2 separate regions of the Homo sapiens genome follow, and region 2 is linked to region 1. Evidence: promoter capture Hi-C in human tissues and cell types (Jung and others, 2019). All regions are on one chromosome and are shown on one strand. The core of a region is centred on a gene start or on the middle of the fragment in contact, and the rest is flanking DNA. Distances in the headings are between cores, read along the strand shown. Region 1 holds the start of NETO1 (neuropilin and tolloid like 1). Region 2 holds the start of LOC124904358 (a long non-coding RNA gene).

Region 1 (6,378 bases), core at 3,879-6,378:
TATTAAGTTTATGTGATGCTATTAACTTATATAATTATGAAAAAAGGCTGGGCGCTGTGGCTCACACCTGTAATCCCAGCACTTTGGGAGGCTGAGGCGGGCTGATCACCTGATGGTAGGAGTTTGAGACCAGCATGGCCAACATGGCAAAACCCTGTTTCTACTAAAAATATAAAAAAAAATTGTGCGGGCGTGGTGGCGCACACCTGTAATCCCAGCTACTCTGGAGGTTGTGGCAGGCTTGAACCCAGGGAGCAGAGGTTGTAGTGAGCCGAGATCGTGCCACCTCATTCCAGCCTGAGCAACAGGGCGAGACTTCAACACACACACACACGCACACACACACACGCACACACAAAGTATGTCTAACCCATGAGAAACTTTCACATGTCTGATTTAGCACACTGAAGTAACATTTTGTTTGTATTTATTAATGGTTATTTTGACATGGAATATGTAGATTTACCCTTTAGTTTAGCTTATATTTTCCAAATATGCCGTCTTCTAGGAGTGGAAACTTGTTTTTTCCCTGAAATAGCAGTGCGTGGACTTTGTGGTACAATACTTATACTATAAAGGTGGCTTCTGTACAGAGCCTTTACACTTTTAATCTTGGGGTGTATCTTCGTAAATGTTCCTGAAGTTTATGTTGATTTATAGAGGATGAGCTTATAATTAGTCGAGTGATCATAAAAATAATTGGTATTATTTTTATAAGCCACTGCGAAGTAAATATCAATCAAAATGAAAATTTTTTTTCTGAAGTTTTGATATGGATTGAAGGATCATGTATCTGAAAGTGCTAACTGGCAAAGGAAGTGCTATGAAAGTTCTTTCCCACAAGAGGCAAACATTCTTGTGCTGCCTAAGAATACAATATATTTGTACTTCTAACAAAACTATATTTTATTTTTCCCTAGTGGTGATCATAAAATATCCTGTTTGGTTTAAATGTAAGATTTCAGAGATTTTGACAGGTCTTCTATTTCGTGGAGACTTTCTACTGCGTTAGGATACTCCTATAGATTTTTTGAAGAGAGCTTCTTCAATATTGCTTAAAACCAGCTTCATGTTAGACTATTTCAGAGAATTTTCAAAAAACATTCCTATATTTACCAGCAAATTACTTGTTTTTGAGAAACTAGTATTATGACATATATTGTTAAATGCAAAAACCTTTACACTTCACAACCATGTAAATAAATTATGTAAAAATCAGAAAATATTATTGTAATATGGATGTGTCATTAGCACTATTACATTTGAGTTATTTTTTGTAGCATCACCTCTTTTACTGATAGACAACTTTTAAGATGATGCCAGTACTGGAGATTAATTAACAAAGGAGCCCTGGTAGAACTGTAGCTTTATTTTTTCCTATAGAGAAGTACATGTATGTAGACAAATACTATGTGCATTTGAATTAGAAGGGCTTGTACCCTACGCCAATTCTTTTTAGGATTTTGGAAGTCCATATGATCTTTCATTGTTAGGAAGCTGCAAGCTGAGAAATAAAACCAACTTACTAATGACACCTTCATTGGGTTCAAGTGGCTTTAATTCTGCACCATCTTCTATAGTAGTCACTATTTCAATGCTAACCTTGGGGAACTGCGACAAAGCACCATCTTCCAGGATGGCACACTCAACTCACAAAAGCTATCAGTTTATATGCTCTTCCTTTCAAAATAACGACATCATCTTGTAATTTGACCATATGTTTGCGCAACCTTTTCTGGGAGAAACTGAACTTTTCCCATATGTTGTTTTTTCTCAGAAAGAAAAATCTTATGGGTCCCTATTAGGGAGGTAGCATTACTCAGCAAGTGTGGATTCTGGAACTCAAAAATGAGAAGGCAGCTTGCCAAGTAAACAGGATGTAGTGGATGGTGAAAAGCGTGTATGGGTGTGTATGAAGAAAAATGAATGGAATTGTCAATAACAATGCTACACTTGCAGCCTGGAAAGAGTAGGAGAGTGCAGCGCGGGCCTCAGCATCTGTGTTGGCCCAGTCTCTTGGTTGATTATCAGAGCACCTGAGCTAGCCAGGCCTCTGTCCTGTCCTAGGTCCAGAACGTGCACACTCACTCCCTCAGCACTGAGGTTTCAGCAAAATTTAATGCCTCAGCCCCACGCATTGCCCGAGAAAGCACTGGGCATTAAAGATCAGCGGGAGGCCACAGGATCACTTTTGGCCAGGAGTCTGAGAACAGCATGGGTAACATGGCTAGACCCCCTCTCTAAAAAATATAAAAAATAAAAGAATTAGCCAGGCATGATGGCCTGTGCCTGTAGTCCCAGTTACTCCAGAGGCTGAGGTGGGAAGCTCAGTTGAGCCCAGGAAGTTGGGGCTGCAGCAAGCTGTGATCCAGTCACTGCGCTCCAGCCTTTAATTCATTAAAAAAAGAAAAAAAATGGAGACCACTGTTTATGCAAGATATTTGATTTCAAATACAGGCGTGGACAAAAGGTTAGGACCCTTTCACCTTCCTTATGAGTTCCTTCCTAATTTCCTGTGTCCCATAAAAGGACTACTTGTTTAGCAACGTAGCCCCTTCCTTGGCAGGTTACAAAATCCCAGTGTCCTGGGAAACTGTTCTGGGCAAAGAGGACAGAAGAGGGCAGGTGAATGAGAGCATTTATGGTAAAACCAAGTTTTCTCTGCCTTCAAACTGTGATTGAGAAATGCAGTAACTTTCTACAAATAATTTTAAATGTTGCCACTTTCTTTGTAGAACTGTGTCATCTTCACGAATAACGCATATTTTGGATGTAAAGAAAGTGCCATCCAACCATAAGAAAGATTCCAACATTCAACTGTCAACTCTTGCGACTGGTCCTTTTGCAAGACCTCCACCCTCTCCTCTATAGATGACCCGGATCCCCAAAAGCGTTTTCCAAGCATTCTGTCATCTGCATATCCCTCTGTTGAGCAGCCTCACTGATCTTTGAACTCTTTTGCTTCCTTAAGGCTGGAGAATTTCTTCCTCAACTCCACGACGAACATTGCCCACCACCTCCCACCCCGCGCTGGCACGAGCACCTCACGTGGGTCACAGGACTCCCGCGGGACCTTCTGCGTGTTTCCCCTTGATCTTTTTACAAGTAGGTGCGTGGGCGGATACTCACCAATCTCCCTTCATCCGCTCACCTCTCTCCCTTTGCTCAAGCTTGCAGCTCCTCTCACAGGCCTCCAGCTCTGCTGGACTTGGCGTATTCAGAGGCGCGCAGCCTCTCTGTCCTCTTCCCTCTCCCCCATTTCTTCTGTCCTCCGCCTTCTCGTCTCCCTACTCTCTTCTGTCCCCTCATTCTCTCTCCTGCCTCTCTTTTCTCTCCCCGCTCCTCTTTTCCCTTTCTTCTCTCTCTCCTTTCTCTCTCTCTTACCCTGTCCATGTCTTCCCCCTTCTCTCAGCTTTCTCTCTTTAGGTCTCCATCTCGCTCTACTCCCGGGTTGACCCATGACCCAACTTTCATTACACGGATGCACAACACGCGCGCGCGTATATGCGCGCGCACACACAAACACACCATCCCCTTTGCTCGGTCACTTTACCCCACCCTGGAAATCGAGGAACCAGCACTTTGGTGTGGTGGTAGGAGGCTTGGGGGCGCGTGTGAGACTCTGAATCCCTTCCAGACTTGGGGGTCACCTCATCGTCCCTCATCCCAACTTACTGGCAGGAGACCTCCACCCACTCACAGCCGCTGCGCTAGGCGTGGGCAGGACTGCGACGAGCACCCAACGCCCCGCGCAGCCCCGCGCGCACGTGGGCGCCCCAGCAGCAGGTGCCGGGAAGCGGAGGCCGGGCCAGAGCCGGGAGGCAGCCCCCCGGCCTCGAGCGCTCGCCAGACTCTTCTCATGGCCCTTTCTCCTTTCCTCGGCCTTTCGGGGCCACCCTAGTCTTCACAGCTCAGCGTCTGCTGCTGACCCCCCGCCCCCCGGCGACCCCGCCATTGCCATTAGCTCTTCCTACCCCGGCTTCTTCGCCGCCACAGTCCCCAACCCAAGCCCCAGCCGCGGCGCGGGTGTGGGTGGCCGGACGGGATGGCTTCCGTAGTCCCGGGGTCCGGCGGGCTCGGCTGTGGTCTGCGTGGGTCGCGTCCGCAGAGGCCGAGGGAGGGCGGGACGGAGCCGGGAAAGGGAGGAGGTGCCGTTGCGGCGCCCAGGGAGGGACTCCCTGCACCCCCGCGCGCTCCAGCCCTTCCCGGCGCTGCCTCGCGGTTGCCCTTATTTCGTATTCATTGATTCGCATTTTACAAGCCCGGGCTCTTCCGGTGCTGTTTCCCCGCAACTCGTGTCTCCCAGACTTTAACGCGCCGCGCGAGCCTGTAGGAGGAAGTGGCGCGGGGGAACGGGGGTCCGTGTGTGCCTTGGGGTGGTTTTAAATACCTCGAGGTGGGGGGCTCAATTGCAAGAAGCCCGCGTCTTTGCAGGAGTAATTTGGTGGGGGGACTGGACATCAGGCCCAGTGCTCAACCGCGAAACTTTTACGGCCGCCTTTCCCTGGGGCGCGCCCCTGCCGTGTCTCCCAAGCTGAGCGCGGAGTCCGCGGCGAAACCTGCGCCCCAGGGAGGGAGGGAGAGGGGGCGCCCAGTTCCTTTACGCGGATGGAAAAGAAGGGGTGGGAGGCAGAGAGCCCGCAAGGTCTAACCTTTAAAAAGTGAAACACCAAACCCCACAAGGGATTTTCACACGAAGGCCCCTCCCGCTTCCACGCCTTCCGTCCGGCACGAGGATCCGGCTCGGGATTTGCGGCTGCATCCTCTCTCTGCGCCCTGGCGGGCCGAGCCGCGGATCCCAGCCGGGTCCTCACCCCCTCCCCGCCCCTCCCCCAGATCCGCGCGGCTGGGATGTCCTTGCTGCCGCCGCCGCGGCCCCATTCTGCCGCGCACCAGCCCCGGGGCGCCGGCCGCGCGCAGCCTCGCTATCCCACCCAGGCTCCGGGCTTCCAGGAGGGTCGTGGAGCCCCAAGCCATGACTAAGGAGCCCATTTGGTAACTCTGCCCTCTTCCGGCTCCTTTCTCCTCCCTCCCTTCCCCGCCCCCCGGCCCCCCCCCCGGCCGCCCCGCTCCCCTGCACCGCCCTCCAGCCCGCCTCCCAGACGCCCACCCACCCGCTCCTCTTTCCGCAAGATAGCAGAGGTGGCGCGCAGCCCGGCGAGCCGATGACGGACCCCTTCTTCCTGCCTTCAATGCCTCAGCGGAAGATCCCCAAGGGCTGGAGCGAGGAGCGCTGCCGCTGGACATCCTCCCGGGGAGGCTGCTCCGACCTGCTGCGCGGCGCGTCTGAGACTGGGGACTGAGCCACCCCGCCGCCGCCGGCGCCGCCGCCGCCGCCCGCTCCGTCGCTGCCGTCGGTCTGGACTGGCCCCCACCTCGCTGCGCCCTCTCCCCGGCCCCGGCCCCGGCTCGGGGCGTCCCGGGGCTCGCCCTGCGACCGCCGCCTCCCGCGCGCCGCGTCCTCCCGACCCCGCGGCGGCGACGATGCCCGGGAGGAGGGTCCTGACGGCGGCGGCGCGGATGGTGGCGGCCGGCGCCCGGGTGTGATGCGAGCGTCACGGTGGGGATGCTGCTGGCTGCGCGGCGCTGAGGGCCAGCGAGAGCGAGAGCCCGCCCGGGGCGGAGGACGGACTCATCCGGATCTGGCTGCAGCGTGGGCTCGGAGCTCCCCCTTCCTCTCGGTCTCCCTCTCGGCCCCCCTTTATTTCCTTCTTGCTTTGCGTCTTTAACACCTCTCGACCCTGTCCTCCCCCCGCCACTGGAAGTCTTCCCGTCTCTAAATGGAATTAGTGGAGCCCGGAGCCTCTGGTGTAACGCACAGACATGATCCATGGGCGCAGCGTGCTTCACAGTGAGTACCCTCCCCGCCGCGCCCGTGCGCTCCCGGAGCCAGCCCTCCCGCCCCTTTCCCGGGGCCGAACGCGCAGGAAAAGCCTCTGCGCCGCGCTCCGGCGGACCCTGCAGTCCCGCGCGGGTCGGGGCCGACGTAAACTTTCTGTATTGCAGCATCGTGGAACCGGGCGTGGGGGCGGCGCGCGGTCAGCCGTCGCCGGATCCCAAAACCTGCCGGAGAACGGTCTTTCAGTGCGCAGGAACCCCCCGGGGGTGGAGGATAGCGTGCAGTTCAGGGATGGACACGTGCGGCAGAGATTGGCCCAAGCGAGGGCGCAGGTGGAAAGCGGGAGAGCGCGGATGATACCTAGTGGGGCCAGAGGAGTCTTCCTCTTCTAGGGGCTCCCGGAGCTCGGCGGGCCCCTGTTCGCAGTACAGGAGGTAGCAGAAGGCACACCTGAAGCCAGCGCTGGAGGGAAGGGCGAGGGTCAGCTTCCACCCCTTTCCGCCCTGGAGACCGCTGATGTCGCTTTATGGGTGTGTGGT
Region 2 (7,100 bases), core at 2,419-4,918, 1.1 Mb before region 1:
CTGAGGAAGCCTCTGGGTAGGACCCCGGCAAAGAGGGCTTGGAATGCAGGTGTCAGGGCTAGGTACAGATATGTGTAAGCACATGACTGGCGTGGCCTGCAGCTCCCCCAAGAGAAGGTAAGACGCCGCGTGCACCAGGTCCCTGTTGGGAGGGTGGCTTCCCTCATGGGGTCTTCCAGGTACATCTTTGTAATTGTCTACAGTTATGCCTGAAAAAATCACACACAGGAATTTGGACAGGAGCTGATCTCCTCATGCATGATGGCCTTCCAAGAAAATAATGTATACAGTAGGTCATTTCTCAAACATATTTGACTATGGAGTTTGTGATTGCATGTTTCTTGTGACTGGTATTCTAATTACAGAAGTACTAGTCTTTCTATCTGAAACTGTTCAAAGTTCAGTGTTTAAACGATGGAAAAGCTTTCCCCCTAAGTACACATATTTCATTAGTAGCGTTTCTTTTGATGTAGGTGAAAATTTGGATAACTGTGCCTTTCCTTCAGTATGCATGGGTTTTTCCAATGTCACCTGCAAAATGCTCTATTTTTTCAGCTGCCTGTGAGTTTTGTCTAAAGGTTATCTGGGTCAACTCAGGTCAGAGGGATTTTTGTAGAACATCCTGAATTTAGCAGTGAGGAACTCTCAGCCCAGCATGATTCATGGATGTCTCACAACCTCATGTTTTCTGACATCCACCATCAAGGCAAAGATCCTAGAGCACTTGTGTCTTATGGTGTGATTGTGTGTGTGACTGTGCGTGTGATCCTTTACCATCCATGATTTCAGAGGGAATCAGTGGAAGTGCAAAATAATGAAAAAGGGTATTTTTCATTTGTCCTGTAATGTCCTAGTTTTGTTGATTCAGCAGATTTAATAATTACATTTTACTTCACTCACTTGCACATTAAAATGCCTTTGCACTCTCTATAGGGAATTGGTAGGAGAGAGGGGCTCCCCAAACCACCAGGTCAGTTCACACGACTGCCCTATCTTTGGGTCATCATTCAAACTACAGCAGTGTTCTGTATTGGGGTGCCAGATTCACCAAGTGGAAATGATTTTTTTCTGTTCAAAGAAGTTGAAGCTTGTGCAAAACAAAACCATAACTTGTAGTTTATTGAATGTATCTTTACTTATAAGGTTTTGTTGTTTGTATACATCAAAACTAGATAAAAAAATGTGGCTGTGCAGAACCAAGAAGGTTTCATCCAGGCAGGATTCTGTGGACTTAGCTTAGGAGAGTGGTTTTTATAGTAATTTTTGTGTATGAAATGCTTTCTTCCAGGGAAATCTTATGAAGAATGCCAATATTAAAAATCAGAGTGGGTCACGGTTGAAAGTAGGTGGGAATACATTTAGCCCTCTTCTTTTTTATAGTGTCCCTGAGGGGCTATGTGTCTATCTGCTGGAGGAGAATGGTGATCTGACACACTGTTTGGGTCCAACCCCTTTAAGACAACTTTCCTTAACAACACTTATAGATTTCCCAATTCAGGATTTTAGTAACAACAGCAGCAGCTGCAACGTTTATTATGCACACTCAACAGGTGGCAGGCAGTGCATTTGGCACTTTACATGGGTTGTCTCTTAAGCCTCACAACAAATGAATGAGGTAGTGTCAAGTCAGGGAACAGTCCCTAAGACCACTCTCACTTCTGACACCAATTGCAGATTTGGGGGTCCTCGAGACAATCCTCAGTTTTGATATTTTGCTAGAAGGGCTCACAAACTCACTGAAAGTTATTATACTCATGGTTACAGTTTATTACAACAAAAGGATTAAAATCAGCCAGGAGAAGACGCACACAGGGCAGATCTAGGAAGGTTCAAAACATGGAACTTCCAGTTGCTCCTCCCAGTAGAGTCACAGTACTAACTTCTCCCATCAGTGATGTGTGACAAACCACACAGAATGTTGCCAGCCAGGGAAGCTACGCAACCCTTGGTGTCCAGCGTTTTTGTTGGGGATTGGTCATGTAGACATGCCTGACCTCAGCTTCTAGATCCTTCGAAGTTGAACTGATGATACATGTGACCAGAAACCCTCTTCCTAAATCATATTGTTAGACTGGGGTGGCCCAACACACCCAGGTAAACTAAGACACGTTTATCAGGACACTAAGATGCTAAGGCTTTCCAAATGCTTAGAGAGCACCTCCCATGAACCAAAAGAAAAGACCAGATTTCTCTTTGGGCCATGTTGAATTCTTTATTTCATAGATAGCTACTAGAATTCTTTTCCATCTCATAGATGAGGAAACTGAAGCTTAATGAGTCTAAGTAACACTTTGTAGTTGGTGAAGCTGGGTCTTGAAGCAGGGCAGACGATTCCGGAAGCTAAACTTTTAACTTTAATTTCTTATGAAGGTATTTGACAGTCCAAGCTGCACCATTTTGTAAACCCCTGCCATTTTGCAAACCCTGGTCAGAATGGAAAATTCCACTAGGGCTCAGGCCACATAAGAAACATCCTGGGACTTTCCAGACAAGTCCCAGGCCTAACTGCCTGACCCCAGGAAATTCCTCCCTTATCATCAGCTAACCACACTGCCCACCCCATTTCCCAACAAGCCCAGACCTCTCCCTCCTGGAACTATAATTACCCCAGCCTGTAAGGGGGTGTGGGCTCTGGTGCTAGCTGATGTCCCCCTCCGCAAATCTTTGTTCAATAAACCTTTGTTGCCCTAGAGCTGCCTCTGTTCGTTCCTTCTCCCTTTCCTGCTCTAACAGTATTAAAAAGAATTATTGGTACTTGACCCAATGGTTAATTTAGACATAAATACACATGCTAGCAAAGAAATTATAGTCAGGTAAACTCACAGCAGAATCCTGATATTAACAGGCAGTCCTGTCATCTCCAGTGTAGCTAGGAAAAAGCCCATTCTTGTCCATTTGTCCCAGGTCACTCCCGACCATGTGAATAGATCATCAGAATTGCCAGTCTGAGTGCTGCACCCCCCCAAGTCACTCCACGCTGCCTGTCGTCTGCCACTGTCAGTGTTCAGCCTTTAAAGTCTTCATTAACTTCATTTACAATGGTCTAGCTATTTCTGTTCTTTAATTGCTAATTCCACAATGCCAGGGTGAGCTTTCCTCCAATGCAAATGTTTTTGAAAATGCTGGCTGCAAAACATTTTTGCTGCAACATGCCTCTGATTGCTTCAAATTGTTTCTTTTCTGCACCACTACCTTTGAAAAGTTTAAAAAAGGTACTGTTTGCTCTTCCATATCCTGTGATAATTATAAGAGACTCTATCCTTGCATCCTGGAGCTGCTTCCTGTGCCTTCTCTCTCAAAAACCCCTGCTGCAGCGACTGTAGTTACACGCGTCACCAGCTACATCCCTTGGGTTTTGCAGTAACTGTTTATGTTAGCTATAGTGGCCATATTTTCTCAGACAAAATTTGGGACACATGGCCCAGCAAGGATGACTGTGCATATGGGTACACAGGACATAATATTTCTTTCCCAGAAAACTTGAGACATATGGTCTCCATATGTATAGAATATATGGCCTCTTGAATGTCTCTTTATTGATGCATTTCTAGTCACATGAATATGTAACAATAGTAATGTGATTTTTATAGCCTCTCTGTCAGGAGTTTTTCATTTGAAAAACATATTCATCATTTCTGTTTGTGGTAAAATTACTGCTCAATTTAGTGGCCAGCTTTACATGGTACGTGATGTATCTTGGTTTTGATGTTCTTTAGTGAATATATTTTCTTACTTCTATTTAGGGATCTGTGGTCTGTCTAGGCCAAAAAAGCAAACAACAAAAAAAAAGGCTGTGTGTATTCATTTGTTCTGAAAATGTCTGTGGAGGAGGTGGCTTGGTGGCGAATGATTTCACGGTAGGCATGTGGGAGGAAGCTTCAGAAAATAGATGAAAGTTTATGAAGTTATTTAGCTGTTGGGGTCAGTGAACATGGGTATTTTGAAAGGCAGAATAAGTGATGAATGAAGGGGGAATAAGAAAATGGCAGAAAAATGGAAAATATAATGGTGTAGAAGGCATTTTTTTCTTCTAGTTGCCTACTCTTTAGCCTGCTCTCAGGTGGCTAATGGAGGAAATAAATAAATAGGTGGCTTTAATCCTCAGTAGAGCAAACAACAGTGACAGCAAGCAGAGCAAGCTTCCTGTGAACACAAATTAAATGTGTTTGAGTAAGAAATATGAACTGTAGTGAGCATTTATTAATAAAAATTCTGTGAGCAGTAATGAATGACATTCTAGTAGACAGAGATAACCTCCAAAGTAAGCAAGAGATGATATATTTGATTGGAATAACTAAAACAAGAAGCTTCCAAAAGAAAAATGATCCCCTACCAGCAGTTAAACTAAATTGGACAGCAGTGCAGCTCATCACAGGTGACGAGGGGCCTCCAGTACCTCGTAGGCTGGAGGTCACATTGACCTTCAGAGAGTACATGGAATCCAAGCTCAAAGTACCAAAGAGGGTGATGAATGTGACAGGCAGCTCTGTCAGAGTTTTCTCTTTCATTAGGTTGTTTTACACTCAATGTAAGCTCCATCCAGAATTCTTTGTTTTTGCGTAACATCACTTATCCAGTACCTCCAATGTAGTCTTGATTTTCCTATGGGGCCACAAAGGTGATTTTCTCCACCATTTCTTCCATTCTGTGAAGGAAAGCAGTCACAACTTTGCTTAAAACTTTCAGTCATTTCCCATTATTCTTAGGAGAAGGAAAAAAATCTTCTACATGGCCTGCATTCCCTTGGCCTTCTTCCTCCATTGTAAACAAATGTCCCGGAAGCGTCTGTGCAAGCTCCCTGGCTTCTAGCACCTGTGCTAATTCTGACTCCCCTGGAGAGTGCACCTTCCCTTCTTATCCTAGTTAACTCCTTCCCAGCTGTCAGGTTTCTGCTCACGTGTCACCTGCAGAAAAGCTTCTCTAACTCTTAATCCTAGGGAAGGTCACTCTGCTCTAGATCCTCATTGTGCATGGAGTACTTTCCTTATGGTATTTAATACAAACATGAATATTCTTCTCCTTTGCTAGACTAAGCTCTACAAGGTCAGGGGTGCCATTTTGTTCACCTGTGCATCTCAAAATGTAGCACATTGTTGGGTATGCAGCATGGTGTAGATTATGTGTTCATCATATGATATGAAGCATGGTGTAGACTATGGGCTCATGGCCTGGTGTGGAGTATCGCCCTGATTATGTACTCATGGCTTGGTATGGAGCATGGTGTAGACTATGTGATTATCATCTAGTTTGAAGCGTGGTGTAGGCTGTGCACTCATGGCCTGGTATGGAGCATGGCCTAGACTATGTGCTTATGGTCTGGTATGGAGCATGGTGTTGGACTATGCACTCATCATCTGATTTGAAGCATGGTGTAGACTATGTGCTTATGGCCTGGTGTGAAGCATGGCCTAGATTATGTACTCATGGCCTGGTATGGAGCATTGTGTAGACTATGTGCTTATCATCTAGTTTGAAGCATGGCGTAGGCTGTGCACTCATGACCTGGTATGGGGTAGGCTGTATACTCTGTGCTCATCACTTGATATGAAGCATGGTGTAGGCTGTGCACTCATGGCCTGGTATGGAGCATGGCCTAGGCTATGTGCTTATGGCCTGGCATGGAGCATGGTGTAGACTATGTGCTCATCATCTGATTTGAAGCACGGTGTACACTATGCACTCATGGCCTGATGTGAAGCATGGCCAAGACTGTACACTCATGGCCTGGTGGTGTGGAGCAGGGAGTAGTGTATAAAACCATGGCATGGTCTGGAGTATGTACTCAATCCATTTTCTGGAACGAGTGAACATTCTTGTTCTCAGATTGACTACTTTCATGGGAAAACTCCAGTTACTGAGGCCAAATGGGTCTGAGCTGTCCCAAACTCTGCAGTGCCATGTCTTAAAATGGCTTTGCTTCCTATTTGTCATCCTCTCAGGGCAATGACTCAGGAAGAAAAATAAATCCAGGACCTATACTCATTTAAATAAACTCTGGCATTCATCTTGTTTCCTTTTGAAGATTTGAGTCACCTTGATGTCCACAAGCTCCCACTGTGAATTATTATGAACCTTGGGGAGAGGAGAATTCCTGGAACATCAAGGCAGGGGAGAGGCAGTAAGGTAATAATAACAGGGGCATGCATGGAGTACACACTGCTCTAGATTTGAGGGCCTAGGTGTGGGGGCCTAAGTTCCCCACGGGCATCAGCTCATTTAATCCTCCCAGTAACCCTAGGAGGCAGGTGCTATTATCAGTCACCCACATGGTTCAGATGAGGACAGTGAGGTGTGGAGGAAATAGCTAGTCAATGTGAAAGAAGGATTTAAACCCAGTCATTCAATCTTCATAACCTGTATTCTTAGTCATGGTGCTAAACTGTCCTTCAAGACAAGAAAGCTTCTCCCAGACTTTCTTCCTTGATTTGTATGCCTTCTTTTCACAGGAGGGTAACTGTGTTTAGTTGTGTTCATAAACCTGAATGGCATCCTTCCATATATCAATTCGTTCTTTCACAAAGCATTTCCAAATACTTAGCACATACTGGGTGTCGCAGTTAGCACTGAGGATACAGAGTTAAGCATACTTCATTCTTGTCTAGAGGTAGAAATATATATATATATATATATATATATATATATATATATAAAATCTCTCTCTATATATTTATCAATATACATATGCTAATCAATATGTATATATGTAAATCCCTGTCTCTCTCTACCTATCTATACATGTATCCAGACTCTAGAGGTTGAAAGTATAATATAATATAAGTTTTAACAAATTATTATGGCCATCTAGCAGACGGGGTTAGTAAATGAGTATCTTTGAAAGAGTGTAGGAGAAGAAATCCTCATGGAGGAGTTAACATCTGGATCTGGAATGATAAAAATGAATTTGACAGGCAAATAAGTAGAGAAGAACATTAAAGGAAGAAGGAACAGCATGACAACGGTGGGGAGGGGGCCTTGGCTGTGGAGAGGGCTTAGTGGAGGGACTTTGTGGTGTGGGTGGAGCCGTGGGGAAGGAGGTGGGAGGATGGACTGAGGCCAGATGGTGCAGGTTTGTAAATGTGATTGTTCATTCGAAGTGAGAG

The links. Contacts are between HindIII fragments. The study calls those that stand out against the background at their distance.
Region 2: a fragment that was not itself captured here is called in contact with the fragment with the promoter of NETO1 in region 1 in 1 of the 25 tissues and cell types used here (dorsolateral prefrontal cortex).

The regions. Positions count from the first base shown.
Region 1 is chr18:72,866,737-72,873,114 of GRCh38, reverse strand. It overlaps NETO1 (neuropilin and tolloid like 1), which reads left to right and starts at 5,128. Exons shown (of 11, transcript NM_138966.5): 1 at 5,128-5,851. The coding sequence starts at 5,824. It overlaps NETO1-DT (NETO1 divergent transcript), which reads right to left and starts at 4,727. Exons shown (of 2, transcript NR_134648.1): 1 at 4,653-4,727. The HindIII fragment of the contact is 16,969 bases long and covers 1,502-6,378 here.
Region 2 is chr18:73,944,075-73,951,174 of GRCh38, reverse strand. It overlaps LOC124904358 (a long non-coding RNA gene), which reads right to left and starts at 3,295. Exons shown (of 2, transcript XR_007066470.1): 1 at 2,824-3,295. The HindIII fragment of the contact is 3,980 bases long and covers 1,679-5,658 here.